Linked DNA regions of Homo sapiens: all the other regions are linked to region 1. The links are contacts of gene promoters, found by promoter capture Hi-C in blood cells and fetal thymus (Javierre and others, 2016). All regions are on one chromosome and are shown on one strand. Each heading gives the region's core, a stretch centred on a gene start or on the middle of the fragment in contact. The rest is flanking DNA. Distances are from core to core; before and after follow the strand shown. Region 1 holds the start of COL25A1 (collagen type XXV alpha 1 chain). Region 2 overlaps COL25A1 (collagen type XXV alpha 1 chain). Region 3 overlaps COL25A1 (collagen type XXV alpha 1 chain). Region 4 overlaps COL25A1 (collagen type XXV alpha 1 chain). Region 5 overlaps COL25A1 (collagen type XXV alpha 1 chain). Region 6 overlaps COL25A1 (collagen type XXV alpha 1 chain).

What was found. Contacts are between HindIII fragments. The CHiCAGO score rates a contact against its expected background, and 5 or more counts as called.
Region 2: a fragment that was not itself captured here is called in contact with the fragment with the promoter of COL25A1 in region 1 in 1 of 17 cell types (erythroblasts); the score reaches 6.4 in erythroblasts.
Region 3: a contact is called between a fragment that was not itself captured here and the fragment with the promoter of COL25A1 in region 1, in 1 of 17 cell types (megakaryocytes). The highest score is 5.3, in megakaryocytes.
Region 4: a contact is called between a fragment that was not itself captured here and the fragment with the promoter of COL25A1 in region 1, in 7 of 17 cell types (endothelial precursors, megakaryocytes, M1 macrophages and 4 more). The highest score is 12.6, in endothelial precursors.
Region 5: a fragment that was not itself captured here is called in contact with the fragment with the promoter of COL25A1 in region 1 in 7 of 17 cell types (megakaryocytes, endothelial precursors, fetal thymus and 4 more); the score reaches 14.2 in megakaryocytes.
Region 6: a contact is called between a fragment that was not itself captured here and the fragment with the promoter of COL25A1 in region 1, in 1 of 17 cell types (megakaryocytes). The highest score is 5.6, in megakaryocytes.

Annotation. Positions count from the first base shown.
Region 1 is chr4:109,300,196-109,305,291 of GRCh38, reverse strand. It overlaps COL25A1 (collagen type XXV alpha 1 chain), which reads left to right and starts at 2,634. Exons shown (of 38, transcript NM_198721.4): 1 at 2,634-3,123; 2 at 3,217-3,569; 3 at 4,640-4,709. The coding sequence starts at 3,273. It overlaps COL25A1-DT (COL25A1 divergent transcript), which reads right to left and starts at 2,257. Exons shown (of 3, transcript NR_160939.1): 1 at 1,965-2,257. RefSeq lists an enhancer at 1,780-2,562. The HindIII fragment of the contact is 6,447 bases long and covers 2,376-5,096 here.
Region 2 is chr4:108,806,566-108,811,517 of GRCh38, reverse strand. COL25A1 (collagen type XXV alpha 1 chain) reads left to right here. Exons shown (of 38, transcript NM_198721.4): 38 at 1-2,793. Among named protein-coding and RNA genes, the nearest start is that of ETNPPL, 46 kb to the right of the region's middle. The HindIII fragment of the contact is 1,077 bases long and covers 1,698-2,774 here.
Region 3 is chr4:108,897,674-108,902,379 of GRCh38, reverse strand. It overlaps COL25A1 (collagen type XXV alpha 1 chain), which reads left to right. Exons shown (of 38, transcript NM_198721.4): 14 at 1,208-1,261; 15 at 3,200-3,226. Among named protein-coding and RNA genes, the nearest start is that of ETNPPL, 140 kb to the right of the region's middle. The HindIII fragment of the contact is 1,201 bases long and covers 2,399-3,599 here.
Region 4 is chr4:108,843,421-108,848,164 of GRCh38, reverse strand. It overlaps COL25A1 (collagen type XXV alpha 1 chain), which reads left to right. Exons shown (of 38, transcript NM_198721.4): 28 at 1,946-2,026; 29 at 2,914-2,976; 30 at 3,596-3,646. Among named protein-coding and RNA genes, the nearest start is that of ETNPPL, 83 kb to the right of the region's middle. The HindIII fragment of the contact is 2,816 bases long and covers 1-2,749 here.
Region 5 is chr4:108,822,457-108,827,298 of GRCh38, reverse strand. It overlaps COL25A1 (collagen type XXV alpha 1 chain), which reads left to right. Exons shown (of 38, transcript NM_198721.4): 33 at 111-164; 34 at 2,077-2,103; 35 at 3,072-3,125. Among named protein-coding and RNA genes, the nearest start is that of ETNPPL, 62 kb to the right of the region's middle. The HindIII fragment of the contact is 238 bases long and covers 1,462-1,699 here.
Region 6 is chr4:108,977,873-108,982,865 of GRCh38, reverse strand. The region is part of intron 6 of COL25A1 (collagen type XXV alpha 1 chain); the gene reads left to right. Among named protein-coding and RNA genes, the nearest start is that of ETNPPL, 220 kb to the right of the region's middle. The HindIII fragment of the contact is 182 bases long and covers 2,431-2,612 here.

The DNA.
Region 1 (5,096 bases), core at 1,385-3,884:
GAGTCTACCAGGTTTTGAAATCTTAGCGCTAATGGCTGGTAAATTTCTGAGGTATTGTGCCCACCAAAGACATAAAGCAAATCTAATCCTCTGGATAAAGATCTCAAAGCCACAAAATTCCAACTCTATCTCTCTACTAAGATCTAATAGTGCTGAAGGCTTGCCAGAGTTGTTAATGTACCTTCTCATGGCCAATTTACACAAAGCATGCTATAAGAACATTGCATCATCCAAATTAAATGTGTAACCTACTGTAGGCATCAGTCAAGACAGAAAATGGCTTTTCTACTGAAATTTTAAGAGTGGTATGTTGTCCAAAAGAAAAAGCTCTTTATTCTCATTGTCTCCATACTTCAGAGAAACTGATGTGGAGAGTTTGAGAGGAAGAATGAGCAATGAGGCTAGTGAGATGGTAGACAGGGGGCTTTGTTGTGGGGGTTGAAAGATGTAAGATCTTTGTCCTAAGGACAACCAGAATTATTGAAGGACTCTAAATAGATGAGGAGAGGAGGGCAAGGGAGAAGTCAGGGCCGGCAACTGGGTATTTTGGCTTGGGGAGACTGGATGGATGGCAACTCCATTGGCTGAGATGGGAAACAGAGGAAGCAGACAGAATTTGGAGGTAAGCTGCAGGTTACATTGGAAATGAGAGTGAGACATCCAAACGGAGATGACAAAGAGGCAACTGGCTATATGGATCTGAGGTTCAGGAGAGAGGTTTGGGCTTTTGATATGAATTTATGACTCATCAGTGTAATGGGAACTCTACTGGAGAGAGTATACAGAGAAGATGGAATAGACAGAGACCCAAGGAGCACCAACTTTCAGAGAAATGAAAGAGGAAAAGCCTGCAAATGAGACTAAGGAACAGCTAGAGGTTACAGAAAGAGTTTGTACATTAAAATATTTGTACCCATTATTTGGGTCCTGTTATTGGAAACATGTTTAATCACAATTAAATGTGACTTGAAATTTATCTGTTTTAAAATTTATTTAAAAACGTTGTTTATATTTAAAAGAGGAACAGTAAATCCTCACATCGCAGGGTTATGAGGTTCAAATACAAAAAGTATTTGAAAATATTTTGGAAAGTATTATACCAGTGGTTCTCAAACTTTAGTAGTATATATCAAAATCATTTGGAGGGCTTGTTAAAACACAGATTGCTGTTTTTTTTAAAATTATTATTTCAGTAGTGGTAGTAGCAGTTTCTGATTCAGATCTGTGGTAGGAACCTAGAATTTTAATGTCCAAGTTCTCAGGTGATGCTGATGTTATTGGTCTAGGACCATCCTTTGAGAACCACTGTGTAATACAAATGAATTATGGTTTTGACTTTATAGCCAAATTCATTGAGTTTTCCTCCAATGTTAGTCTCTTTCTTCCTCTAATGCTGTTATTTCCTTACCTTGCTTCACACCTAGCAATATCCGTTTACACATGTGAAAGACCAACTTAGTGAAGTATTTTGTTGACTGTTTACAATAGTAAGCAACGACTTCAGGTTAGCTTAATTAAGGAGAATAGGAAAAATATATGGTTTTTTTTTTTATAGGGAGATAAGAAGGAACTCTTTGGAATAAGAGGTGGGATTTCTGTTTTCCCCAAAGTCAATTAGATGTCAAATGCTACTTGTTACCAACTTTCCAAAATCCCATTAGAGACCTTGTAATTTGATCCAGAGAGAACAGCATTAAGAGTCAGGTAAAAGGAAAAACTGACTTCATTCTTCATTCCTTTCCTAAATCCTGAGAAATGTGTATACCTCAACACTCCCTTTTCCAATCCCGCAAAACAGGGAATCAGGAAAACACATTAGCACCCTAGTACAGACTAGGAATACAGAGCTGGGAGGAGACTCAGTGCCGTCAAGACAAGGAAACTGGGGGAGGGGAAGGAAAACTTCCCCTCGTTGGACAATCTGAGGGCTGCAGTGGGAAGAGAAGGGAAGTGGGGAAATGTACCTCAGACGTCGGCCAGACACTTTGCCTCTGGGCATGTGGGAAAGTGAGGGAGGAGGGAAAAGCGCTGCACCACAGCGAGATAGCAACAGCTCCTGCGGCTGCTTTTGAGTGAAGATCAGTAGAGATAGAGCGTGCCGCTTCACATCTTCCTCCCGGAGGCCATTTCTCCATTTTTATGTGGGATAAAAAGGGGGCGCTGGGCTGAGTCAGTATAAGCCAAAGTTGCCGCCTCTTGCGCAGCCGACCCCGCTTCGGCCCCGGCCCAGGCCAGAGAGGTGGCCCTCGGAGATGCTGAAGTTACTCCGCGCAGGGGGAGGGGTCGCCAGGCTCCTCTCCAATCACGGTGGCCGCTCCAGCTATTTGCATACATTATGCTAATAACAGACCTCCTGCCCCGCTCCCACCCAAGCTTCCCGCCTCCCTTGGGGGTTCCCCGGGCCGGCCCGCGGGCTGGGCCAAGGTGAATACATTATGATAATAAGGCGGGCTCCTGCTTTGCCTTCGGAAGGGGGGCGCGCAGCAGCGGGAGCGGCAGGCCGGACGCCGGGCGCCGGGAGGGGGTCGGGGGAGGGACGTCGTGCTCGGAGCGCGCGCGCACTCACACACTCACACACACACTCACGCGAGCATCGCGAAGGGTATTTAAGGATCGCGCACGCGGGGCTGCGGAGATCCTTCGGGCAGCCGCGACTTCGGCTTCGCGAGTAGCATTGGTTCCTTGGGTTTATTTCGTTTTCCTCTCTCTTCTCCACCTTAGTCGCCCCTTTCGCGCTGCGCTGTAGCGTGCTCTCACAGCCTTTTTGCCTTGAACTGAATGCAGGTGGGAAACAGGTCGGCGTGCCGAAAGACACCGAGTAGGTAGAAATAAGGCAAACTCACAGAGGCGCAACAGGTCCGGTCCTCCGTGGCCAGGGCGAGCCGCGGCCCCGCGTGGCGCCTCGGCCGTTGCCCTCGGACCCTGAGCGGCCACTGTTGGGGCCCTCGAAAGAGGTGTCGGTCCTCTGGGAGTCGGAAGAGCTGTCTGGGTGGGTTTCGTCTTGCTTTTTACCCCACCGCCACCCAGTCCCCGGACGGAGGGTGCTTTTCACTTCCAGCTGGGAGGAGAGAAGAAAGCGGGGATGGTGCACGCCTGCGGGTCTGGACGCTGAGCAAGGCAGGGGTCCGTATCCGCTCGTGGGCTTGACTCCACCAACTAGTTGTGCAGCCACAGGGACTGAACTTTGGAGGAATCGACCTTTTTCTTTCCTTTTAGGATTATTTGAGGTGTAGAGGGTGGGAAGCGAAGCCGAGACGGCCGACCCCGCCACGATGCTGCTGAAGAAGCACGCAGGGAAAGGAGGGGGCCGGGAGCCCAGATCCGAGGACCCGACCCCTGCCGAACAGCATTGTGCCCGGACCATGCCCCCGTGTGCCGTCCTGGCGGCCCTCCTGTCAGTGGTGGCCGTGGTGTCTTGCCTGTACCTGGGTGTGAAAACCAACGACCTCCAGGCGAGGATCGCCGCTCTCGAATCCGCCAAAGGGGCCCCTTCCATTCATCTGCTGCCTGATACCCTGGATCACCTCAAGACTATGGTGCAAGAGAAAGTGGAGCGACTTCTGGCTCAGGTGTGAGAGGCTGGGGTATTTTGCACGTGGGTAACATCTTGTACAAGCGTGACTCTGTGTGCATGACTAGCCGCTACCCTTACTGTACCCATACTTGGTGTGGCTGTGTGTGTGCGCGCGCGTGCATGTGTTGGCCAAGGATCTATGCTCACTGTAGCATATATTTATATGTGCACATCCCTTGATGTCCCCATCCCTATCTCTAATCTTCCCTCACTCTCTCTTAATGTTTGCGTGTTAAACACATAGGAAGGTCTAAAAGGGTTCGGAAAGGGCATTTTATCTCTTTTTAGTTGTCCTAAGTCAAACCCAATTGTGGAGAGAATATTTCTTGCAGAGATAGCATCTGTTAAATCTTTTACATGTTGTAAGATGGTTAGGGTCATAGATGTTATTAATATATAAAAAAGGTAATCACTCTTAAATGTAAAATAATGTCATATATAATTTAAAATCAATAATTTCACACGTTGAATCTTTTCATATTAAAAGTTTAAACTTTTTTTTTTTAAAGTAGCTTTATTTTTGGTAAAGGATGCAGTGCCGGGGTATTTATGAATGCAGAGCCCTTGGAATTGAGAGTTGAGAGGAATCTATGTTATGTGTAAGGGTACCTTTAGACTAGAGTAAGGGGGTTTTCTGGAACCTTACCCTAGCCGGGAGCCTATTTGGCAGTAGTTGCAGCCTAGCATGATAAATAAAGCAGTTGACCTTCATGTATAAAATATTGGCTGTTATTGGTAAGCCACAGCTTACCTAATACTGCAACATTTTAGTGCTAGGTTTTTACATTGACTGCATATGCTTGAGCTGAGGGAGAGAGTGGTGGTAGAGAAGAATGGAGAAAGATGTTATACAAGTCCAGCAATCTTGATACCCTATCAGTGGTCATTTTCTTTTTTTAGGACTTAGGCATGGTTACTTTCTTGACTAGAGTCCAAGTACATATGTAAATGTTAGTTATGCAGGTTATGAAATGCCGGTAAATCAGGCGTATGGCCAGAGTCCCTAAAGACTCCATCCCTCTACAGTGCTACTGATGATTATTAATAACTCTTCTTTTCCTACAGAAATCCTATGAACATATGGCTAAAATAAGAATCGCAAGAGAAGCACCTTCAGAATGTAACTGCCCAGCAGGTAAAATGGAACTTATTTAACAAGGTTTCCTCCAGAGCAGAGCATTTTAAAACAAAGGTCCTGTGTCTGTCAAGTCTACCTGTAATAATAGTAAAGAAAGAATGCAGACCCAACTTGCTTTAATAAAATCAACATGTCTCATTCAAAAGGATGGCAAATAAAGCCCCAAATATTATTTTAAGCAGCATACCAAGGCCTGTTATGGGAAAGCAAAGGATATAATCACCAAAGAAAATATAGGCAAGGTGATGTACAAGGACAAACTTCTTAGATTCACAGATTGAAAAATATTCTTCAATTAAATTGTCTTAATGTCTACAGTGAAAAGGACTGTAGAACTGTTAGATTCTGAATTCCTGGCTCGCTCTTATTGTGTTAGTGCAGAGT
Region 2 (4,952 bases), core at 987-3,486, 490 kb after region 1:
GATTGAAATGGATCACTATTTAAAACTTGCACAGCTTCAGGAGACGATACCTCAACATCAAAAGAAAAACACTTTATGTATAAAAAAATTTTTTGAAATACAGCCCTTCAAAGAATACTATTCTGTCCTGTGTGTATATTGAGTTTTTGCTCTATAACTGATTTGACAACATCAACTTATTTCATGATTAAATGAGGTTGTAAACTTTCATTACATTTATTTCCTTGGGAAAAACAAAGGGATGGAAATACTCCTCCTTGTTCAGTGGAATTGCTAGGTCTTAACCATGATGGATAATCTTTAACTTTTGGTTACTACAATGTTTTCAAGCATCCATTTTGTCATATAGAGAATTCTTAAATAATTTCTAAGTGAATGAAAGAATTGTGTTTGTTGATATGTGTTGATAGATAATATACTTTCCTTAAAGATTTCTTTAATGTGTGTTATTGGATAGAGGGTTGAGAAAATATACATGAAAGACACATTGGAAATAAGGCAAGGTCAGTTTCTATTTCTAATAAAACATTGAAGGATAGCAAATTGATATGTGTTTTAGATTTAAAATTGTTTTTCATTTATGTTGGTTGGTGCTAATGTATCTCTTTTCCTTTTTCTCTATGGACAATACAACTACTATGGATAATTTTATTTCCCTGTTTAATAGCATTCCTAAATCATTAGTGTGTTATTTTATTTTTAAAGTTCATGAATTTGCTATAATTATGGTCCAATGACCAGGCTTTCTTAATGTAAAACAAAACAGTGTACCAATAGATGATGTGTGTTTACTCGGATCATGGATCCTCCTATTTCATATTCATTTCATACATCATATGCCTTTATCTACTTTCATGTGTCTCATCTTTTTCATTCACTCGTCTTTTAGTTTATATGATTTGATGAAACATGACAAAACTAGCATCAGAGAAGTCTGCACACACCGTATAGAGTACCTAGTGCACAAATATACCTAATTTTTTCTTTCAGTTTTTGTTTTTCATTAGCAAAAGCAGTCTTGGAGGATTTTTTTTTCTCATGTGATTTTATAGAGGACATTAGAATATCTTTAATTCCTACCAGAAGAAAGGTCTTGTTTTTGAATTTACATTCTGTGCATACGATGTTCTGATGGGACAGCAAGAACTTACACATCAACTAGTTTATACTACATGTCCTTTGTCTAACTATCTATCTATATAGACATATGTGCTAGTTTAGAAAATTGTCAAATCAGCATGTCAGTACCAATGGAAAAATTGTCTTTGATATGTTATATTTTTCTCACTTAGGAAATGTGCTTAATTTCCAAGGGTTTTTTTTTTTAATGTTACTATTGAAGCATGAAAAGTTAACATCATTTGTTATCCTTTCTTTCCCCACTATATATTGTCTTACCCAGAGTAGGGCTATACTTTGGTGGTGTTTTAACATCTTCTAATAAGTGATCATAAGCAACATACAGATGCTAATATTTGAAATCTTGTTTTTTCTTACTTCCTAATAATCAAATTATATTAATATTTCACACTACAAAAAAATAGGATTTTCTAATTTGTAAAAACAAGAGCTCCTGCTATCTCTTGGAAGTTAAGTCCTTAGGAACCCTATCTTATCTTTCTAAAAATAATAAGTAAGAACAATCACATGTGATTCTGGCTATTAAAATCATACATCCCTAGTGGAATTAACAAGCTTGACCAATTATGATTATGCTAAATTGTTTTAGGCTAGGAGGACTGTCAGTCCCTACTTCTTCCCATTTTTCTTGGGATATCTTTATATTGGCTAGATTTGTTGCCAATATAAAATTGACACAGCAGAGACACTCCTCTAACTTAAATTTTTAGTGGAGTTTGGTTTTTGCTAACCCCGTACTAATAAACACTTTAATGACTTTTTTCATTTCAAAATATTTAAATGTATAAAATTGCCTATGCTGCTTATTGAAAGAACCGTCCTTTTGGGCATAAGAAGACTTTTTCAACCTAAACCGTTATGTGTGATTTATTAACAACTTAACAAAGAAAGTACCAACATCTCTCAAAATGTAGTTGATATTCTTACCTATCTCAGAAATATTAACGAATTGGATTCACAAAAGAATGTCTTACATACTGTTGACATTTATGTGAATATTCTTTATACTGTTGTAAATGTTTCATTCAACTTAATAACATTTTAAAAGATGTATGTATCTGATTTTTCTTTAGAAAATATTATATTTTTATTTGTATTTTTTACATTTTAAAGTTCATCTCTATGTGCAGCTATTTTTATATTGCCAAAAACTCACATAAATACAAAATAAGTGAAATATGCAAAAAAAAATATTTTGGCAAGCATTACACTGCATATTTTTTTAAATGTTTGTGGGCCAGTCTCATACAATTGATTATTCTAAGAATGTGTTGTGTCTTATCACTGTAAATATGGCACAAACCTGTTTATCTCAGTAGTGTAAATAATTGAAAGATTGAATTCTCCCTGTTCAATTTTTATTTTAATTTCCTTGTAATTTCTCCAGCTGACATTACTGTATCAAAAGATGCATAAGATTTTTGATTTGCGGTTTGGAGATAATTGCATTGTGTTCAGTTTCCAGTTTGTTTTTATTTGCTTTTTAAATTTGTTTTCAGGGTTCCTAGTTTGTGAGAAGTTGATCTTCAGAATTATTTTTACACTATTTATGACTTATTTTCATAATGTAAAAAGTGTGTAATTATTACAATATTAATCCAAACAATGATAATGAATTGTATTGTTATAAAGCTTTATTGATGTTCATGAAAACCTTGGCCTCTTTTCTTTGATTTAAACATTATTCATAAAGAATTTTATTCTACTCTTCTACAATATTGTAACCCCACCATTTAACCTGGTAAACATACCTAGCTATAGGGATTTTCTAAAACTAGAACTTTCTGGTTTGTTGTTGTTGTTTTTTTTTTTTTTGAGACGGAGTCTCGCTGTGTTGCCCAGGCTGGAGTGCAGTGGACCGATCTCGGCTCACTTCAAGCTCCACCTCCTGGGTTCAAGCGTTTCTCTTGCCTCAGCCTCCTGAGTAGCTGGGACTACACGTGCCCGCCACCACACAGGCTAATGTTTGTATTTTTAGTAGAGACAAGGTTTCATCATGTTGGTCAGGCTGGTCTCAAACTCCTGACCTCGTGATCCACCTGCCTCAGCCTCCCAAAGTGCTGGGATTACAGGCGTGAGCCACTGCGCCCGGCCTCCCCTCCTAATTTTCCTCCACTATTTCCCATCTTGATGAATTAAGTTACCTTACGTTTAGTTGCCTCTTACCATCCTCCCATCAAATTAGTCATCAGTATATGATTAGAATGTAGCGTATAATAATCACTTAATAAATATTTAATGGGCTGGGTGCAGTGGCTCACGTCTGTAATCCCAGCACTTTGGGAGGCTGAGGCGGGTGGATCACGAGGTTAGGAGATCAAAACCATCCTGGACAACATGGTGAAACCCCATCTCTACTGAAAATACAAAAAATTAGCTGGGTGTGGTGGCAGGCACCTGTAATCCCAGCTATTCAGGAGGCTGAGGCAGGAGAATCACTTGAACCTGGGAGGCGGAGGTTGCAGTGAGCCCAGATTGCACCTAGGGGACAGAACGAGACTCAGTCTAAAAAAAAAAAAAAATAAATAAATAAATAAAATAAAATTACATATATATATATATGTATTTAATGAATGATGAATGAATAAATGCCTCCACAAAGACACCAATTATTTACAAGTCCCAAATAAAAGAGTACTTCCCAATGCTCACCTTTCTTATATTTTTGCTTTTGTAATTGAAAGATAAAATTGTGTGTATTTGTTGTGCAAAATACGATGTTTTGAAGTATATACACACTGTGGAGTGGCTAGACCTAGCGCTCATCTTTGTTGATCTTGCCAGCAGCATTAGATGCAGTTGACCACTGCCACCCTCTTCAGCACTATTTTTAGTTCTCAAGTCTTTATATTCTTGTCATTTAATCCTACTATTCTTCCTTATTTTCCTCTGCCAGCTCTTCCTTCTCTACCTGATCGTTAAATGATGATTCTCAGGGCTCTCACTTTCATTCTCTCTTCTGCTTTTGCTCTTCTCAGCCACGCATTCCCTCTCTCCAAAAGAGCTCATTCTTTCTCACAAAGACCACGTTTCTGTCTTCATCAGACTTCCTTCCGACTTTCAGACCAACTGATAAAGGCATGTCCACCTGGATGTCTCACAGGTGCTTATCATCTTCCACTTCACCCCTGGTTCTCTTACAGACTTCCATATCATAATAAATGGTGCCACCTTCCCCACCTGCCATCCAGGCAAACAAGATGGAGGCCTCAGAATCATTATGGACACTACCCACCTCCATCACCCACCCATCCCCTCATACACACAGCATCTAATTCACCAAGTTCCTTCAATTCTGCCTCCTAAATCTCCATCAGATCTACCCCTTCTCTCCATCCTCATCCCATGGTCTCAGTTTAGACTTTCCTCATTTTTCAAACTTTTGGAGAAGCCTTCTAACTGGCCTCTCTGCAACTATTAACTATCTCATACCCTCTATCACTCTGAGGATGGTGATTCAAAGAAAGTAAATATGGCTTTATTTATAAATTCATCCTTTTATTTCACTTCCCATAATATTTAAGAAAAATTAAAAGAACATTTATAAAGAACACTATTGCCAGGCACGGTGGCTCACTCCTGTAATGCCAGCACTTTGGGAGGCTGAGGCAGGCAGATTGCTTGAGCCCAGAAATTTGAGACCAGCCCAAGCAACATGGCAAAACCCTGTCTCTAAAAAAATGCAAGAAGAAATTATTCAGTCATTCTTGTACACACCTGTAGTCACAGCTACTTGGGAGGCTGAGGCAGGACGATCACGAGCCTGGGAGGTCAAGGCTGTAGTGAGTCAAGATGGTGCCACTGCACTCCAG
Region 3 (4,706 bases), core at 1,750-4,249, 400 kb after region 1:
GTGTAAATCTGGACAAATTACTTAACTTCTCTGTGCCTTAGTTTCTTTGCCTGTAAAATAGAGATAAAAATAGTACCTACCTCATAGGAATTTATGAGAATTGAGTCAATGAATATAAAGATCCTGGCACTTAAGAAATGTTACTATTATTATTAATATATATGTTTTTGAAGCTGAGAACACAAATATAAAAGTGACAGAATTCTTGCCCTCCAGGTGACTTAGAAAACATTCTCAAAAATCAATTAAGTTTGCAGTGAACCTAAAACTGCTCTAACAATAAAGTCTATTTTTTAAAAATCAACCAAAGAGCAACTTTACTAGCCTCAATGGAAAGAAGAAAGTTGTCCAGTAATTGGGGCACACAGTGAAGGGCTTTCAGAATGTTTTAAAATGAGAACAGAATTCTAATTGCTGTAAGTTTGAGCCACATGGAAGCATAAAGGCCCAAAGTATCTTTTCCTTGTTTCTGGGCACTTCAGGGAGCTTTGTCTCTTTGGAAAACAATTGCTGGTTCAGAGTCTTGAAAGACTGGTATACATCATCATCTTTCTGAAATAGGAAATTTTTCTAGCCTAATAGCCATCATCTTTTGCCCAAAAGCCTATCATTCAATATGGCAATGAGATCCATAAGTCTGAATGTTTTATTCTACTTATTTTTACAATGAAATTGGAAAGAAAAACCAAATCTGTTTTTAGTGTTTACTTTTGTGTCAAATGTGTCTAAATGAATTAAGTAGGTGTTCAAAGATGTATATGTTCTTCAAGATTTAGGTTTGTAAATGTTCATTTAAGTCTAATGTGAGAACAGAATGATTTATTCTTTCTTTTTCTGAGCTGATGAATCACTTAAAAGTTTTTTGCCAGGAGAGTCTTATATTTTCAGTTGTCTTTTACTCATTCAGAAAATATTTATTTGATGTTCACAATGTACCCAGCAACATGCTAGATGTTAATTTCCACTGGTAAGTTGCCTCAGTTTTCTTAATGATGAGAAGACTGAACAAAGGAAATTAACCCCATTGTATCCTTGCTCCATTACATGCAGCGTTTTGGACCATGGAAGCTAACTTGAATTTAAACTAATAGTCACTTATTCTTTATCTATTTCTAGAGAATTATTAGATGGCTGTCTCCTCTAATGATCCATGTAATGTATTGATTTTGTCTATTTTACTTAGTAGTATCTATTTTTCTATTTTGAGGGTGAGCCCGGGTTGCCTGGAGCAGTAGGACAGAATGGAATACCAGGACCTAAGGTTAGTACAAATAAAGCCAAGCAGAATCATTTGACACACGAATTGTCAGGAAATTGTAAGCTATTATTTAATACAATTTTTAACAATCTCACCAGTTGCACTTACATGGGTATTTTGTGAATAGTATAATATGCTATAGTATAGAACTTTGTTACTAATGAATTAATTATATTTGTGATTCTCATTAGTATTAAATGCAGAAAAATAAATGGGATGTGATCATCTAACATCTTTATTCTGAGATACTTAAATAACATGAATAGGCCTATGTTTCCAATATGGCTGTTGTCATTTTACCACTTAGTGGGTATATAAAAACATAGGTCATGTCCATATTGCCTAAAATTTTTATATTTACATGCCTTACTAAAGATGACATTCACTATGGCTTTTCCCCAAGATTTGGCCACCTCCAGCTCTTACACAACATAACCAGTTAATCAGATGAAGGCAGAATAAAGATGTTTAAAATTTAAAAATGGATGTAGTCTGAATTACCAAATAGGGAAAAAATGTAATGAAGATTTTTTTATTCCAAGTCTTCTTTGTTTCTTAAAAAAATTGAATCAGTTAAATATAAAAAGATTGGGGACAATTTAGTTTAAATCAAGCAGGCAGCCAAATCCCAAATCCTTTGATGAGTGAACATCCCTTGAAGTACAAAACTAATGTTTAATCCCATCAGCTGTGCTGGTGTGTATTCGTACCCACAGATGCCTGTCAGCTGATTTTACAGATCATTTGCTATTGACAGGCGCCTAGGACAGACCTGAAATTTATAGACCTGTTCTTTGTCCTGCAGGAGAGGAAAGAAAATATTCCTTCTGGGACTCTAGCTGTTTTCCTGTCTTCTTCTCTCTCTTTCTCCATGCTAAAAAGCCAAACAATGGGAGTTAATGCTTAATGCATGTTCACAGTGCTATTCTGGTGTTGCCTAGCGACCATCAGGATGGGTGTTGAGCAGTGAAGGTGACCAGAAATGCAGAAAGCCAAAGGGTCAGGTTGAGTTCCAGAGAAAAGAGTCTTGCTTCCAAACTGACTTCTGCAGTGGGTTATAAATTTAAAAAAATACAATAATTGCCTTATTTCATTTTTTTTCCAAAGCAGTCTGATCTTATGGCAACATTCACTCAAGCTTTTCATAGGAAACTATTTTCATAATGTATATGATTTACTTTAGGACTCCTACTCTCCTGCTCCAACCTCTGTCCTTTCCTGGGTAAAGTGAAAATGAGATTCTCTTCAGGGCACCATTTTGCATTTTAGTCCTCATGCTATCCAGGTCATCATTTTGAATAAGGACATCATTCCTAAACTCACTTCAATTCTGCCCCATTCTAGTGTCTTTCCTTAAGGTGCCTCCTAAAATAGACCTGATCTGGAACATGCTCTTTACCAGAAGCTAAAGAGAGTTTATGACATTGTAAGGGGTTCAAGATTAGGACTATTTATGATCATGTTAGGGCAAGACAGATTGGGTAACTACCCTGGCACCCTAGACCCTGGAAATGATCTATGAACCGGGGAACACTTTGAATAAAAGGATTTTCAGAAAAACATGCTAGTCCACCTGATTAACTCTGAGTTTAAGCAGAATGAAAAATTGTAGGCTAAGAAGCCTCTCAAGATATTGAATTGCCACACCATCATTCTCCTTAGTGCTCCAAAAGCCAGTTTCTGGATGATAATCTTCAAAAACATTTATTTAGTGCTATAAAAGCAAAAAATTAAGATTACATTTGATAATTGATATTCATACTCAAATTCTCCAGGAAACTCATTTTATCATTTGTTTTCATATAGCAACTGCATGTAGCCAAAATAGAAAATGTCATGCATAATTTACCTAGTAAGTTCAATATCTGTTTTGTTTAATAATGATAATAAAATTAGGTGTTTTATGATTTGATGTCACCCAATCTCTGTCTTTTTGCTCAGGGAGAACCTGGAGAACAAGGTGAAAAGGTAAGAATGATTCTGCCTGTATTTCTCTCTCCCTACTCCCCACCACCAGCATACCAAAGAAGTACTCAAACTAAACTATATGCATGAATGGATGGGTGGATGGATGGGTGGGTGGGTAGATTAATAGGTAGGTAGGTAGGTATATAGATATATAGATATATAGATATATAGATATAGATATGACTCCTGTGTTTTTTCAAACTGTTAATTAGTGGAAGGAGGAAATAGTGTGATTCTTATGTATAGACAAAAATTTGGGTTAAAAAAAGTTTTAAAAAATAAAGAGAAAGGTGCCGATGTACCTTCAGAACAAATATTTAATAATGAAGAGAAAGGGAGCAAATTTAAACATTCTGTGTCAGGCTTTTAAGCTTTTAAACGGGTTTCAAAAATCCTTAGGCCTGCAAAATCTGGTCTGCCTACTTGCTAATGCCATTCTAATGCTTCTCCAAGCACCCACATCTCTCTCTACTGCTTCTAATGTCACTAGGTTAAAGGGATACAGATGTTTACCTGCAGCAATTATCTGAAGGTTGCCCACAAAGAATTCCCATAAAAACCAAAAAGAGAAACAGGAAGAGCAGAGTGTTAAGTTACTCCTAGACTCTTTTTCTTACTTGGGCCTGTCCTGATTATTTTTAGGCTCTGATTGCATATTACGATACTTATTTTCCTGGTTCTCATGCTACTTATTTTAATAGTGTTTGAAAAATATGCTGAGTAGGAAACTACCAAGTTACTACATCATGCTCTTTGTAAGTGATATGGTCTTTCTGACAAATCAGTATTATAACCTCTCATCCCAAAAGAAGTTTATGTAAAGATCAAGAAAAATTCTTAATTATAACTGTATTTTTCAACATTGTAAAGAAAAAAAACCATTTATTTAATGGAGGGGGAGCAAAATACGTGGGTGGAAAGGGCAGTTTCCTGAGGGGACAGCTCAGTTAAACCCTTCACTTTGCAATTACTCTGAGCCAGTTTCCCTACTAAGAAGGTTGGTTTGTTTGTTTTGTTCTGTAATAGAGGGATTTTTGTGCAATTTTATAAAAAGCATGCAAATCAACTGCCTATCAAAGATCCCTCATAACACATTACTAGGACATTTATTTAGCATCCAATCAGTTCATGGTAATTAACCTGAAATTAATTAGTCACTGGGTGACTCTTTTGTGTAGAAATTAGGAGGGAAAAGGAGCAGTATCAGCACCATACCAGGCGTTCATCAGAGAAAGTGTCCCAGGCTCTTGTGGCCTGCCGCAGTGTATTTGTCACCATAAACAAATGCCCAGGCAGACTAACTTCATGCTTATTTGAAAGAATAAAACAAAATACAGAGGAAAAAAGTGAAAGTCTGCCTTCCCAACTTCCTTTCTCCCCCCTCCCAAGAAAGTTATGATCAATAGTTTCTGTCCTATTTTAAGAAACTTTTTGAGTAATAGAAAAGTGACTGCATTCCAGCCTATGGAATATGTGAATA
Region 4 (4,744 bases), core at 92-2,591, 460 kb after region 1:
TTCCTTTTTATTTATTTATTTTTGGTTAACACCTCAACAATTTTTTTTTAAATTCACTCTGTACAAAAACAATCCCTGGGATGAATTTGGCCTGTGAGCCATGGTTTGGCGACCCCTGCTCTAAAAGAATCTGAGTTGGAGAACGTGGACAGTATTCAGAATTTGGAATGGAATCAAAAGGGTTAATTTCAAGATCTTTAGTGTTTTCTTGATTTCCATTATTTACCCAAGAAATGGCTAAAATCAGGAAAATCATAAGAAATCAAAAGGATTCTTAATACAGTTAGTGCACATATACTCCTCAGAAGAAAGTATTAGATAGGAAAATTAGGTTTAGGATTATTTTTACTATCAGAGTTATATGCTGAAATAATAATAATGCCATATTAAATGAACATGTGGTAAACAGAAACATAGATACCTTAGATGATTTGCTATATCATAGATCACTTAGAATTTTAAAGTCTGTCTATGTTACTTCTCTGACCATTGGTCATTATAAGCAATTAATTTGACATGCATAATGATATACATTATGGCTCCTACAGATATAGTAGCTAGCTTTTTTTTTTCTTCTGTAGGCTTTGCAAGGTCTTCTTCTATCACTAAGTACATTGGGTTGCCGTCCTGCTGCCATCACTAGATCCCTAAAAATAATCCAGGTCTTATTAATCAGTAAGATCCATCTATTCATTCAGGCACCTACTTACCCATTGGGTAATTCTGAATGCTATTAAATAGGAACAGTTAACAAGAAAAGTTCCTTTCCATAAATAATTTTTCTCCATCGGTTTTAATAAAAAAAAGATAAACAGGTTTGTGCAGCCTAGAAGCCCCTTACCATAATAACTATGATCATCTCTACTGAAGAATGAGCCATTAGTATATTGAAGTGAGTTTCCTAGGATGAAAATGCTTAAAAATATAAATTAATGTCAATATTAATATTATAAAATTCAGGCCAGGCATGGTGGCTCACGCCTGTAATCCCAGCACTTTGGGAGGCCAAGGTGAGCAGATCACCTGAGGTCAGGAGTTTGAGACCAGCCGGGCCAACATGGTGAAACCTCGTCTCTACTAAAAATACAAAAATTACCTGGGCATGGTGGCGCATGCTTGTAGCCCCAGCTACTTGGGAGGCTGAAGCAGGAGAATGGCTTGAACCCAGGAGCCGGAGGTTGCAGTGAGCCAAGATCGCACCATTGCGGTCCAGCCTGGGTGACAGAGTGAGACTCCAACTCAAAAAAAAAAAAAAAAAATTACAAAATTCAGATTTGTTAACATTCAAAATGCATATTTATCTATTTCCTCACTGTAAAGGAGAATAAAAATACCATTCTGACTCATCTCATAGAGACATCATGAGAACAAAATAAGAACACTGTGAAGAGGTTGTCATACTTTTAAGCATTGATTGAGCGTTAGTGTGTGGTAAATGATCCAGTGATTTATCAGTCTGTAGACTGGACCATTGAAAACTCATTGTGACTGGAACTTCTGCCTGCAGTTAGGAGGGAGGGGAGTATAGTGGGTAGAGATGAGAGAAATTTGGACATTTGTTATTATATAACACTAGGTCCCAGTTCAAAATACATCCTGTATTGTTGAGAATTAAGTCTATTAAGTTGTTTTCAGGTCTGGTGAGATAGAATTAGCTGCCAGGTAAAAATACAAAATCAGGAGAAATTATGTCAAAACCTAAGTTCATGTTTTTTATGCTTACATGGCCTAATAGAACTTAATCTATTTCATTACAAGGAGAAATAGTACTGATTGCATGTAGAAGGTTGCTGTAAGAAATAACTCTACCTAAAAACAAAAATCAGAATCATCTCAACATTGAACCCACCTATTAACGAAATTGATCGGAATTCTGTTTTCCCTAGGATGTAATTATCGGGGGTCATTATGCTGCTTACATGCCAACCTTGTCTATCATTTTTAGGGACTCAAAGGCTCAAAGGGAGACATGGGGGACCCAGGTATGACAGGTGAAAAAGGAGGAATTGGACTTCCTGGATTACCGGTATGTTTATACTTTCTGTTTGTTTATACTTTTTATATTATGTTCTTATTAAGATAAATTAAACAATCAGAAAAGAGTTATATTATTAGCTGCAATCTCATCTAGTGGTTCATCTCATATTTTTATTTTGAAATATTTGAGGTATTATTGGTTAATTACTCTAGGGAACTCAAATTGTAAGGCATGTAACCAAATGAATTATAAAGGAAGCCTTCATGTTTTCCTGAATTGTTTTCCCTAGAAGATAATAAAATAAACATAGTTGGCCACTTTAATTTAGTATGCATAAGATGGTGGTAACTGGTTATTGTAAAATAAACCATAATAAAGAAATGAGCCAAAAAATATAGGAGAATTAAAAAACAAATTACTCTGGAAAGTGTCCTCTGTGTGTATGATACTATGGGATGGTGTTTTATGGTTTTCCCCGTAATTCTAACTGAGAATTTGGAGGAGAAAATGTAAAAATTGTTTTAAAAAATGCAGTAAACTCCACTGCCTTAGACTTTTCTGTAAAACAAGGAAGTATATAAATGTCAGTAAAAACTAAGTTAAAAGCCTTACCTTTGCTGTTTAAATTGCGCACCACCATAAAAGATATAACATTTATAACTCAATGTATTTAACACTGTAGGTCTTTAACCAATCAAGCTCAAACTAGTTTTCATTTACTTTATATTTTATTCTACATATCACCCATAATCCTAAGGATTTTAATAAGCTTGCTATTTTAAGCTAGAATTCAAGGAGATAAATCCTTCTTTTATGTAGCAAGTGCATAATATTATAAAATGTCAAGAGAACAATGGGTTTGGGGAGAAAATTCAGTTGTCTCTTACACTGGAAATAACTTTACCTGCTTAACTCTGCTTAATGGTTATTTATAGGGAGCCAATGGAATGAAAGGAGAAAAAGGAGATTCTGGAATGCCGGGTCCACAGGGTCCTTCTGTAAGTCCATGGTGGCTGAACTTCCATTGTTCCTGAACCTCCTCACACACTGACATGTTACTTACCTATTCCACCTCTGCCAGATGGCTGCACAACAGTAGACAGACCTCAAACCTCTTGGTTTGTCAAACTGTAGAAGAAACATCCGTCAGCCCTGCACAGTGATACACAAAGTATATCAGAGGTCTGAGGTAGAAGCAGGTTTTCAGAGGACTGTCTAATCCTGAGGAAAAAAATCAATGGTTTTCTCCTAACAATGGGTAGATCTTTGTGAATATAGAACATACTTGTTTGTTTCTCCAGAGCCCTGCTTATGCTTAGTGAAATATTTGAGTTTGATAGTAGTGACATTATAGCATTTCTTGGTAATTAGTTGCTTCCTTTTCTTTTAACATAGTTTTCATTTATTCTGGCTTTTGGAGAACTTTTTTTGGAATTTTTTTTTTTAATTCTCATAAGGGAATTTCTACATCTAGAGAATCAAACACATCACTTATTCTAGTATCTTTCTTCCTCTCCAACTACTAATGGCCTTAGCAGAACCCCAGCACAAGATTCAAGTTGAACTGCCTTATCTAAATGAAGTAACCAAATACATTTTTATTTTTTGGACATACAGATCATAGGCCCACCAGGCCCACCAGGTCCCCATGGCCCACCTGGCCCCATGGTAAGTTTCCCTTCTTTCTGAAATGTAATTGCTTATTTATGAGCATGCTGCTAGAGAGAACATGAACACATCCCTCTAAACAGCCAGCTTGTATTTTGTACTACTCTCTGTGGAATGGATGGAAAATACCAGGTGCTTTGAGATATATTAACTTTACAGTGTTGTCATTCACTCTCCCAAACACATATGTTGGGAAGAGATAGAGTAGTTTTGCGACAGAGGTGAGGAAAGACAGACACATATAGCAAGCTCTACTACAACTTTACAGTGTGAACACTGGCAAATCATTTTATCCGGCCACTCCTCTAACCTGATACCAGCAGAATAAGATTTAGAATTGGCTGGACACAATGGCTCATGCCAACACTTTGGGAGGCCGAGGTGGGCAGATCACTTGAGGTCAGGAGTTACCAGCCTGGGCAACATGGCAAAACTCCATCTCTACTACAAAAATTAACTGGCCATGGTGGCACATGCCTGTAGTCCCAGCTACTCAGGAGGCTGAGGTGGGAGGATTGCCTGAGCCCAGGGAGGCTGAGGTTGCAGTGAGTTGTGATCATGCCCTTGCCCTTTAGCCTGGGAGACAGTGAGACTCTATCTCAAAAATAATAATAATAATAATAATAATAGTAATAATAGCCATTAAAGAATGTTTTCTGACAAAGTTTGAGGTTTGAACTCTTTAATGAAATGTTCAATAGGAACATTTATGTATAAGGTATCAAAATATCACACTATATCCATAAATATATAGTTATTATGTGTCAATTTTAAAAAAGAATATTTGTAAAATAGTATGATAAAAATTGCAGCTTACTTCCTCAGATAACATATATTGTTAGATCTTCCTTCTTACTTTTATGATACTTTGATTGATTCATTGAGCCAGGGCCAGTGTTAACTGCAGGTGTCTTGCAGTGGCCAATGGTGACAGTGGCCCTGCCCTCAAGAAACTGATGTCCAGTGAGGAAGGCAGCCATTAAGCAAGTATAATTCTCTAAATGTCAAACCAAAGACAGTTGTTAAGGTTAGAATGTTGAAGGCAGAATGCTTCAAATGCTTTTGACTGGGGCAGAATAAGAGCAAGTCAGGCAGTCT
Region 5 (4,842 bases), core at 331-2,830, 480 kb after region 1:
GATTTTCATAGAATGGTCCTTGAAATAGAGGCTTTAGACATAGGGCATGAGAGAAAGTGTGTGAATGTAGGTGGGTGTGTATGATTTGAACTTTCTACTTTTCATTTTAGGGTGAAAAAGGAGCTATGGGAGAGCCTGGACCAAGAGGGCCCTATGGGCTGCCTGTGAGTTCCTGGTCACATGCACCTCCCCACCTTCCGCATGCATAGATGACCAGTCACTGACACGGTTAACCCTTCGCTTGTGGGGCAGACTAATGTTAGAGAAGAAACAACAATCCACTCATTATCTATAAATTCAGTACTTCCATGTCCTTCACAAATAGGTCATATTCAGTCTCTTGCCCTCTCATCATGTACAGACACATATCCAGGCACTTCACGAGATTGACAGGATCAGAGACTGTCTCTAGAATAAAGTATTAACTCGAGAACAGGATCCTAACTGTCAGAAGATGCCCTCCCTACATCATCTGACTGGACACTCATAACTGGCACTTCCTTGGAAAATCACTGGATCCAAAAATGGCTGTGGAAGCTTCACTGAAAACAGCCTTCTTCAGACTTTATCTGTTCCTATAGACTATTTACTAAAATGACTCTTGCTAGTAAAAATTATTCCCCCAATTACATTGATATTTATGACGACTTGATGTTTCTGACTTTCTAAATTACCGTGATGACAAATGATCTGCAGAACATAGAACACTGATAGTGCTCTGTCTTCTGAAAATTCTTCTCTTCTTATTATTATTATCATTTGAGATGGAGTCTTGCTCTTTTGCCTAGGCTGGAGTGCAGTGGCATGATCTTGGCTCACTGCAACCTCCACCTCCTGGGTTCAAGTGATTCTCCTGCCTCAGCCTCCCAAGTAGCTGGGATTACAGATGTGTGCCACCATGCCCAGCTAATTTTTGTATTTTTAGTAGAGATGGGGTTTCACTATGTTGGCCACGCTGGTCTCAAACTCCTGACCTCAAGTGATCCGCCCTTCTCGGCCTCTCAAAGTGCTCGATTTATAGGCGTGAGACACTGCGCCCGGCCTGAAAATTCTTAATTACACAGAATTCAAATTGAGACCTCTGGTTTGCTTTAAAAATATCATCTTGGGAATAATTATAATTGATTCATTAAGATAGGGTAGGACGACAGTAGAAGCGTACGTTGCATTAAGGGTTTTAACCTTTCCATATCTCACACATGCTCTTTATGAATTGAAATAATAAACATAAACCATGATTACCTCAGTGCTAAATCAAAAAAAAGATGCTGATTTTGAAATAGGTTTCAAAATCTAATTGATGAAATCAAAGTAACCTCTCGTGAACTTTGGATGGATCCATAATATGACACAATAGGGTCATCACCATGATAATCTGCACCATGGGAGTGAATTTATCATTCTTGCCTAACAGTCTTACAACTTTTAAAAAAAATTTGGGGATTATTCATTTACAAAGCTTACTTAAAAACAGCTTTTAAGTTGCAGCCTTCACATCCTTCGTACACAGTGTGCACATCCTAGCCAAATTAAAACTGTATTTCTACATTCTTTACTCATTTGTGAGCTAACTACTAAGTTATCAAATTAAAGTAGCATTGATTCACATCCTCTATTAGTGCTGGTATGTTTTTAAATCAGCTAAACAGTATTTTTGCTTTTAACTTAACTCCTGGACTGGTAACTTAGATACCAAGCTTTAAACATCAGTAGAATATTAGTCTATTTAACCCAATATATCATATAAAATTTTCATGACCCTTAACTTCAACACTAACAGTCACTAATCAACTAAACAGTATTTTTTACTTTTAATTTAACTCCTGGACTGATAACTTAGCTACCAAGGCTTAAACATCAGCAAAATATTAATCTATTTAACCCTATATATAATATAAAATTTTCATGACCCTTAACTGCAACACTAACAGTCACTAATCCAAATGAGAATCTTTTTCACATTTCTGAAGTAGTTGTTCTAGTACTAGTGTTGCATGTTCAGACAGCCTTAAATAAAGCAATAATCTATTCACAAAACTTAGAAACACTAATGTAGCTACTATGGTTCTTTGGCAGGGGAAAGATGGAGAGCCTGGTCTTGATGTAAGTAATAAGTACAATAAACATCATCCTATTATAATAGATGTTGATGGTCTCCATCATCGATAACAAAAAGAATACTTCTTTTTTTTCTGTGCATATAGGTATGCATAGAACATATATTGCTGTGCATGTAAACAGCAATATAAAATACACTAGTGTTTGCATGAGATAAAACAGAAAAGCAAAAAAACACAATTATCTTGTATAAAATTAATAACTGGTAGTGGATAGTGGCACTTCAAAATACTTTCCCAAATTGAGGGTACTCTTAACATCAGCATGACCTATTTATGAAAAATATGCATAAAATCAATATACTTCTCACATGCTATCCTTACAGAATGATATATTATGTTTTTTTCTCAAAGCAGTTATGCAATATTTTTTTCCTTTTAACATTTAGTCCCTATATATCTTATGCTAATATGATTCTGTGAAAATAGAGAATGTCAAAAGTAAATGCCTCTAGACACAATCACTGCTCATCCTGTATTACCTGAATAATGAGAATACCAAAAGTAATACTAGTTACTGTTTATGAGCACCTGTTATGGGCAGGCATCATTCTGGTACTTTGTAGTACATCATCACATTTAACATTCACAACAGCTGTCTGGTAGATATCATTAACCCCATTTTACAGTCAACGGACTAAAGTGCAGAGAGGTAAGTGATTTGCCCAAATCTGCACAAATCAGTGAACTTGCCAGAATTCAAACTAGTATTCTGGTATTCTTTCTACTCTGTATTTCTTAAAAGAAAAAGCAAGAAACCTGTTGTGTATAGATAATTGAGACATTAGAAAACTTATGTTTCTAAGCACTGCTTTATTATCTAAGTCTTAACACTGGTGAGCCATTTCTTGTTATATTTAAGCTCAGAAATGTAAAATCCTAAAATATTTGTTTCTATATGATTTTGCCACTATTACACCAATAGATCTTTTTGGTTTGCTTTTTATCTTACAGGGCTTCCCTGGTCCACGGGGTGAGAAGGGTGATCTAGGAGAAAAGGGAGAAAAGGTGACCTCTCCATCCCAGCATGTACCTTGTTTGATTCTTCTCCTGCTGTCTGCTTTGCTGTTCAGCTTGTGTGATTCCATTTGACACTTAATCTTTCTCCATCCTGTGCTCCAAAAACATACTGATGCCTGATTTAAGGAATCAGGTCTTCAGAGAGGAATGAAGAAGGCTGTACTGCCAGATATAAGGGCACTGCCTGGCATAGAAGAAAAAATTATTATCACCAGATATTCTAGCTACAGTTTTTCAACCACCTGACACCAATTTATGGAAAAATAAAGGATTTTTGAAAAAAAAATCATTTTAAAAAGTAAAATTAAATGACACAAATCTGCAGTAGTATTTGGCAGAGCTCATTGAACCCTGCAAAGGCAGCATCTCACTTGTCTTCACTACTTCCCAGTAGAGAAATGGAGATATGTTTTGTACGTTGATATTTTTTATATGAAAATGGAGGAGAAGCAGTGTGACTGATAAACTACAGTAAGTTCACTACACAGGACTAGGACTTGCCACTTTCAGATTCAGAGCAACAGAGATTTTTAAAACAGAGATATTGGTGTATTTTATGAGGTTGATGTTGAAGTTCTATCTCAGAACCATCAGCTCCATGGTCTTTAGGAGCCCATGTCAGGCAATATGGTTTTATGACTTGAAAGAAAAGTTTGGATTATGGATTTTAAAAGTCAATTTTTCCTTTCCTCTCCTTTGTTCTTTTCTCCTCCTTTCCCTTCTTTACTCTCCTCTGTTTCTTTTCTCTCCTTCCCTCCCTCCCTCCATCCTTCTCTATCTCTGTCTTCCCCTACCACCCCTTTCTCAGTATTTTGCTTGGGTCTTTTACCTGGTAGTAAATCTAAGGAGAATTGTTTACACTGGACACAACAAAAGAAGCCATCAAAAACTCAATCCCTCAATAGAACAGTGGAAATCTTAAAGTGGCTGAAACTACATTTCACAGTACAAATTTAAACCTTATATTTCTCAGGTTAATTTATGTCCCTGCTCTATTTAACCTTATGAATTCTCTTGAACAGTGACATTCATAGCTGTTGACAAGCAAGGCTAAATGAGAGTTGTGAAAGAAAGAAGATTATTAAGCTTGTGGTGTAAGTTTTAGGCCTTAAGCATTGCTTAGACTCTCCTCCCACCCATTGGTAAGAGAGCCCGTGTAAGTGGTTATCTGAAAGCCCCATCATCATCACCAGTATCATCACATTTACTGAGCATTATGTGCTTTCCCAAGAGCTATACATATGATAAGTCTTTTAATCCTCATAACAACCCCCGAAGTTGGCATTATTTTCCCCACTTCACAAACAAGGAAACTGAAGTATAAAAAATTCTTTTATTCTGAATTATAAATTCTGACTATAAAATACATACGTTTTGAGATAAATTGTGCATATAAGCTTTTAGCCCAAGATGAGTGTGTTTTAAAGATGATATGTAGCTGGGTGCAGTGGTTCATGCCTATAATCCCAGTGCTTTGAGAGTCCAAGGTGGGAGGACTGCTTAAGGCCCAGAGTTCAACACTAGTCTGGGCAACCCATCTCTAGTGAGACCCCCATCTCTACTAAAAAATAAAAAAATATGGTGGGGCATGGTGGCATGTACCTGTAGTCCCAGCTACTCCAGAGGCTGAGGTGGGAAGATCACTTGAACTCAAGAGTTTGAGGCTGCAGTGAGCTATGCTCATACCACTGTACTTTAGCCTGGG
Region 6 (4,993 bases), core at 1,272-3,771, 320 kb after region 1:
TATAGTCCCTTGTTCAGGGCTCAGATGGACATCACAAAAAACCTTATAGTTATGATCTTACTGTGGAAAATGCCCAGAAAATAATAGCCATAAAAATTTGTTTTCTAGTAAGTGAGGCTGGTTTTGATATTTTAAAAGTTTCTGTTTATACCCACCCCCTCTGCTTGGTCTCTTTTAATCTTCAGTACACACTGAAAGGTGTAAAGTCTGAAGCTATAAATCTGTTTATAGCTATAATTCCCTTCCCTGGCTTAGCAGAGTTTGACACTATAATAAACACGGTTCTTCTGCAGCAACATTGAATCTGGTTCTTCTATAATGCTTTATATGTTGCTGTTTTGAACACAGAGTTTTATTGCATTCTTTTCTTTCTGGGCCTTTCAATTCAGCAAGAACTGGTTGGGCACCTACTCTATGCTACGGGTGACTAGGTGGTTCTAGGGCCTGACGTTTAGTCTATTTTAATCATAAAAGTAATGTGGTTAAAACTACGACCAAGTTTATTTGTTTTGTTTGGTAATAGTTCCTTAACGATAGAGGTAGACTATATTAGACCTTCCTATTCTCGAAATATTTCCACCGTCCCCCCAGGACATTTCCCAAGGCATTTTCTTTTGGTTTAGGAAATCAATTGTATTTCTTTTTTGTTTTGTTTGTGTGTGTGTGTTTTTTGAGACAGAGTCTCACTCTGTTGCCCAGGCTGGAGTGCAGTGGCACGATCTCAGCTCACTGCAAGCTCCGCCTCTTCGGTTCAAGCGATTCTCCTGCCTCAGCCTCCTGAGTAGCTGGGATTACAGGCGCATGCCACCACGCCTGGCTAATTTTTGTATTTTTAGTAGAGACGAGGTTTCACCATGTTGGTCAGGCTGGTCTCGAACTCCTGACCTTGTGATCTGCCTGCCTCAGCCTCCTAAAGTGCTGCATGAGCCACCGTGCCTAGCCAGGAAGTTGATTGTATTTCTTTATCCTCAAGTCAAGTATCTGAAAAATAAATTTTATTTTATGTTTATGATAATTAAAATATTAAGTGTGTACTTGATAATTACTATTATATTATTGGTAGGGCAGGCATTTTATAAATTGCTTCATGTATAATATTTTATTTTAGCCAAACAGTGGGCATTATTTTCCCCATTTTAAGATTAAGAAATTGCGGAACAAGGAGATTAATTAACCATTTAAAGATCACACAGGTGATTGTAGCCAGGATTTCAATCTGCATCGGTTTGACTCCAAAACTTGAGCTCTTAACCGCCAAGATATGTTATTTCATGTACTGCATTTTAAAGTAACTCTCAAATTCTACTTTCACTTTTTTTTAACTTTTTTACTGAAGCATTTAAAAAGATATTAAACACAAGTATCCACACACACAATTTATCTATACTTACATACGGGAACTCCTATGATTTTACATCAGTTTTTTCAGAAAAAGTTATTTTAACTTTAAAATTTTCACATTTGTAGTTCGTTATTTGCAAAGTTGAAAGTCTATAAAACAACTTAGTGGTTTGAAGAAGAAATGTCTCTAAAAAATGTGTGCCAGTAAAACAGAAAACTATGTATGAGTTTAAGGTGAAAGTAAATACTCGAAAGAACACATGTTCACATTCTAGTTGGAGGTAAACCTGTACTACATAAAACACTTTTTTTCAGAAGTAGGGTGGATGTATCCTCACCTAAATACCTAGGATCCCTATTTTTCAAGTAAAACACTAGATTTTCAATTGTTAATACTATTTGCAATGTGGTTTTCTGCAGTTTTAGAGACCTGTTAAGAAACTGTGGTACCAAATTCAGTTTCCTTGTAAGTGTGGGGATTGAGTATGTGTGTCATTGGCACTATGAGTCAAGTTCATCATGCAATTTAGGGAGTAGGCAGTAGAATTGAAGCTTCTATCCTAGTTGTACAAGAGAAAAACGGGATATTCCGCTTCCTCCCTGTGAGATTGTGAACATCGATGTTTGCTTGTGCCTGAGCACATCAGAAAGAAGATCCACATCAGACGTGCGGTGACCATTGAGGTTGTGCTGTGCTCCTAGAGGACGGCTTGTACAGCAGACTATCTTCTTTATCTTTAAAAGAGTAGGAAACTTGTGGAGTTTAAAATAGAGTAATTCCATATTCAGTTTACAGTTGAAAAAGTAGAGGAAAGAAAATGTGATAAAGGTTTCCTCTATTCAGAAGTTAACACGGAAGAATTGTGGCTTCTGAGGGGAGGCAGTTATGACTACCTCTGTGCTGCTTCTGCTCAATGGTGGTGATAGAGAATGTTTTCTCTCTCCTCAGCTATTTCCAATTAGGCCAGCCGACGCTGCCAACACTGTGGATTTGAAATATAACACTAAAACCAGATTTAAACTCTATTTGATTCACTTGGCTGTGGAACTGCTGTGTTCATCTACGTTGAACCAGCTTAGGCCAAAGCTTGTCTGCAAATACACTAAATTGTGAACCTTGAAATAAGTAGGACTTGTTAAAACATGTTGACACCTGTCAGTGGCCCCCATGTCCAATCAGTTAACCAGTCTTGTTGTTTTTTACTTGAGAAATGTCTCCTGAATCTAGACCTCTCCCTGTGCCTCCACTAGCACAACCTTAATTCAAAGCTTTACCATCTCTCTTTTGGACCAAGGCAAATACTTCCTAAGAATCCCGAACACCCCGTGTTCTCAGAGTTCCACAAAACAGAGCACACTTCATCTCCGCACTCCTTGTTACATTGATGACAGAATCCAGCTCAAACGCCTGAGTGTGGTTAACCAGCCTTTTAAAATCTCTTTCCTGCTATTTTCTATCTCCACTCCCCACATGTTCTTACCACCCTGAACTCCTTTCTCTGACAGAGTGGTATTTTCTCACAACTGGGCATGTGCATCCCTTCCCCCCGGGCCTGCTTCGCTCCTCCTCCCTCCATCTTCCATCGCCTTACTCCTGGATATCTTTCAAGAGCCAGTTCCAATAGCATCTTTTCAACTCCAGCTCTCCCACCTCTTTCTGCTCTGTACTCCCACAACACAGTATTTAGTCCACTGATTGTGATTATATTTACATGTCCCTCCTCCAGACTCAGAGTACATCGCCTGGCTGATAGTGAGCCAGAAATTCTTAGAGAATGAAGCTTGCTTGTCCTCATATTTCTACAGCAATGAATAGATTAATCAGAAAAGGTTTTGTTATATTTCATGAATAAAAATAAACTTATCTATTCTTTCCTGGGATAGAAGTCATAACCCCATTCTTATTCCAGGCACTCGGGCTGCCAAGAATTCCCAGCATTTGCTCCTTTTCCACTTTTTTCTACCCCAAGCAGAATTTAATTTTGTTTTCATGATTGTCATCTTTTAAAAACTATTCCTGCCTTAGTTTTTTCCAGTTCAAAGCAAATATAATTTACAGTTCCAGTAAATAAAAAACCATGATTGGGTTACTCCAGGCCTATGAATATATCTCTCTTTTCCAGCTGTATTTCCATTGCTGTTATGTAGATTGAAATTCAATATTTTCCTGAATGTCATTCATTGTGCCTCTCTTTGTTTTTAGTTTGGTTTTATCATTTAATTGAAATAGACAATAGAGCATAGGAAAAAAGCTAAAACCTTAGTTACTTAAACGGAAGTAGATTTGAGGAGACTTAAATTGGTATAGGCCAAAACCCACATTAAAGGCTTTTTACAAATAGAAGGGTGGTTCTTGCAAACTCTGAATGTAAAGCCGTTTGAACAGGGGCTAATTTTAAGTTTGCCACAGAAATTTAGAAATCCTTTGGTGTAGGAAGTTAATAACATTCCAACAATGCCCTAAAATAAATCTTCTAATTACTAACAACACTAATAAATAAAAACTTTATTAGCACCCTTAAGTACTTATTAATGTAATTAACTTTAGGATTAATTACATACAACTAATTCAAAAGATCATATCAAATATTCCTACTTATTTATTAAAGTGGGGCTTATAAAAGATCTGACTATTGGATTCTAGACCAAACCAGGACAAGAGTCCCCAAAAGGGCCTTCTATAGAGCTGTGACTCACTGTTCACTTCCCTATGACTGCTAATTTTACCATCTTTCCTTTCCATTGACCCTAACCTTGTTGGAGCAACAAAGTTTTATCTTCAAATAGTTACCAATCAGCCATTGATACTGTCACCTGAACAATAAATATGTCTACTAAATATTAGATTGTTGAGCTTGGTTTAGTTGGAAACAGCAATGTGCCATTGAAAAATAATTTGTAATTCAAATAGCCATTAATTTTTATTGCTGCCTATCCTTTAGTTAATACTAGTTAGCTTTTTTAATGCTAAAGATAAAAAAAAATTAATACCCCAATTTTAATTTTAAAGGGTAATGTTCAAATAAACCTTTCTTTCATTTGTAATTTTTTGACTTAGAAAAGAAGTATGGCTTCTAAATTTTGGAAATATTATACTATCTGTGTTTACTAAGGTAGCCCACTTTGTTCTGCAAATTTAACCCATATTTTCAGTGAAGAGGGTCCAATTCGGAAGGAAGAGTGGGATTTCAGTCAGAGCAGAAGAAAACACCTGCTGTTAATCCAAGTGCACAAGTCGGGGCCGGAGCGTCCGAAGCAGCCGCTGCAGCTGTGCATGGAGGTTGACCTCGGCTTTGCTTCTGTCCTAAGCTGGCAGGTGCCAGGACGCCATACTGTCTGCTCAGAAACACCATCTTTTGAGGCAGCAATATTTATTGCTCAATTGTAGATGCAAATTAAGCATTCTTGCTCAGGGCAAGTTGGCTAAAGAACTCTAGTTGATACGTGGATTTGGCATGAGTAATTGGACTTTGAGGAAAAGGGTTGTCTCTGTTCCTCACTGTCAAATAACTTCACAAAAACTTTGTCCTTAAAGATGCTGTGTAACCTAACAAGGTGCCTTTAGAGGACTGGTACAATGGGAGATGTGGCCTGTGAAATCTCACTGGCAAAAGCAAACAAAAGTTTAAAGAGAAACCTGGGAAGGGGGTGG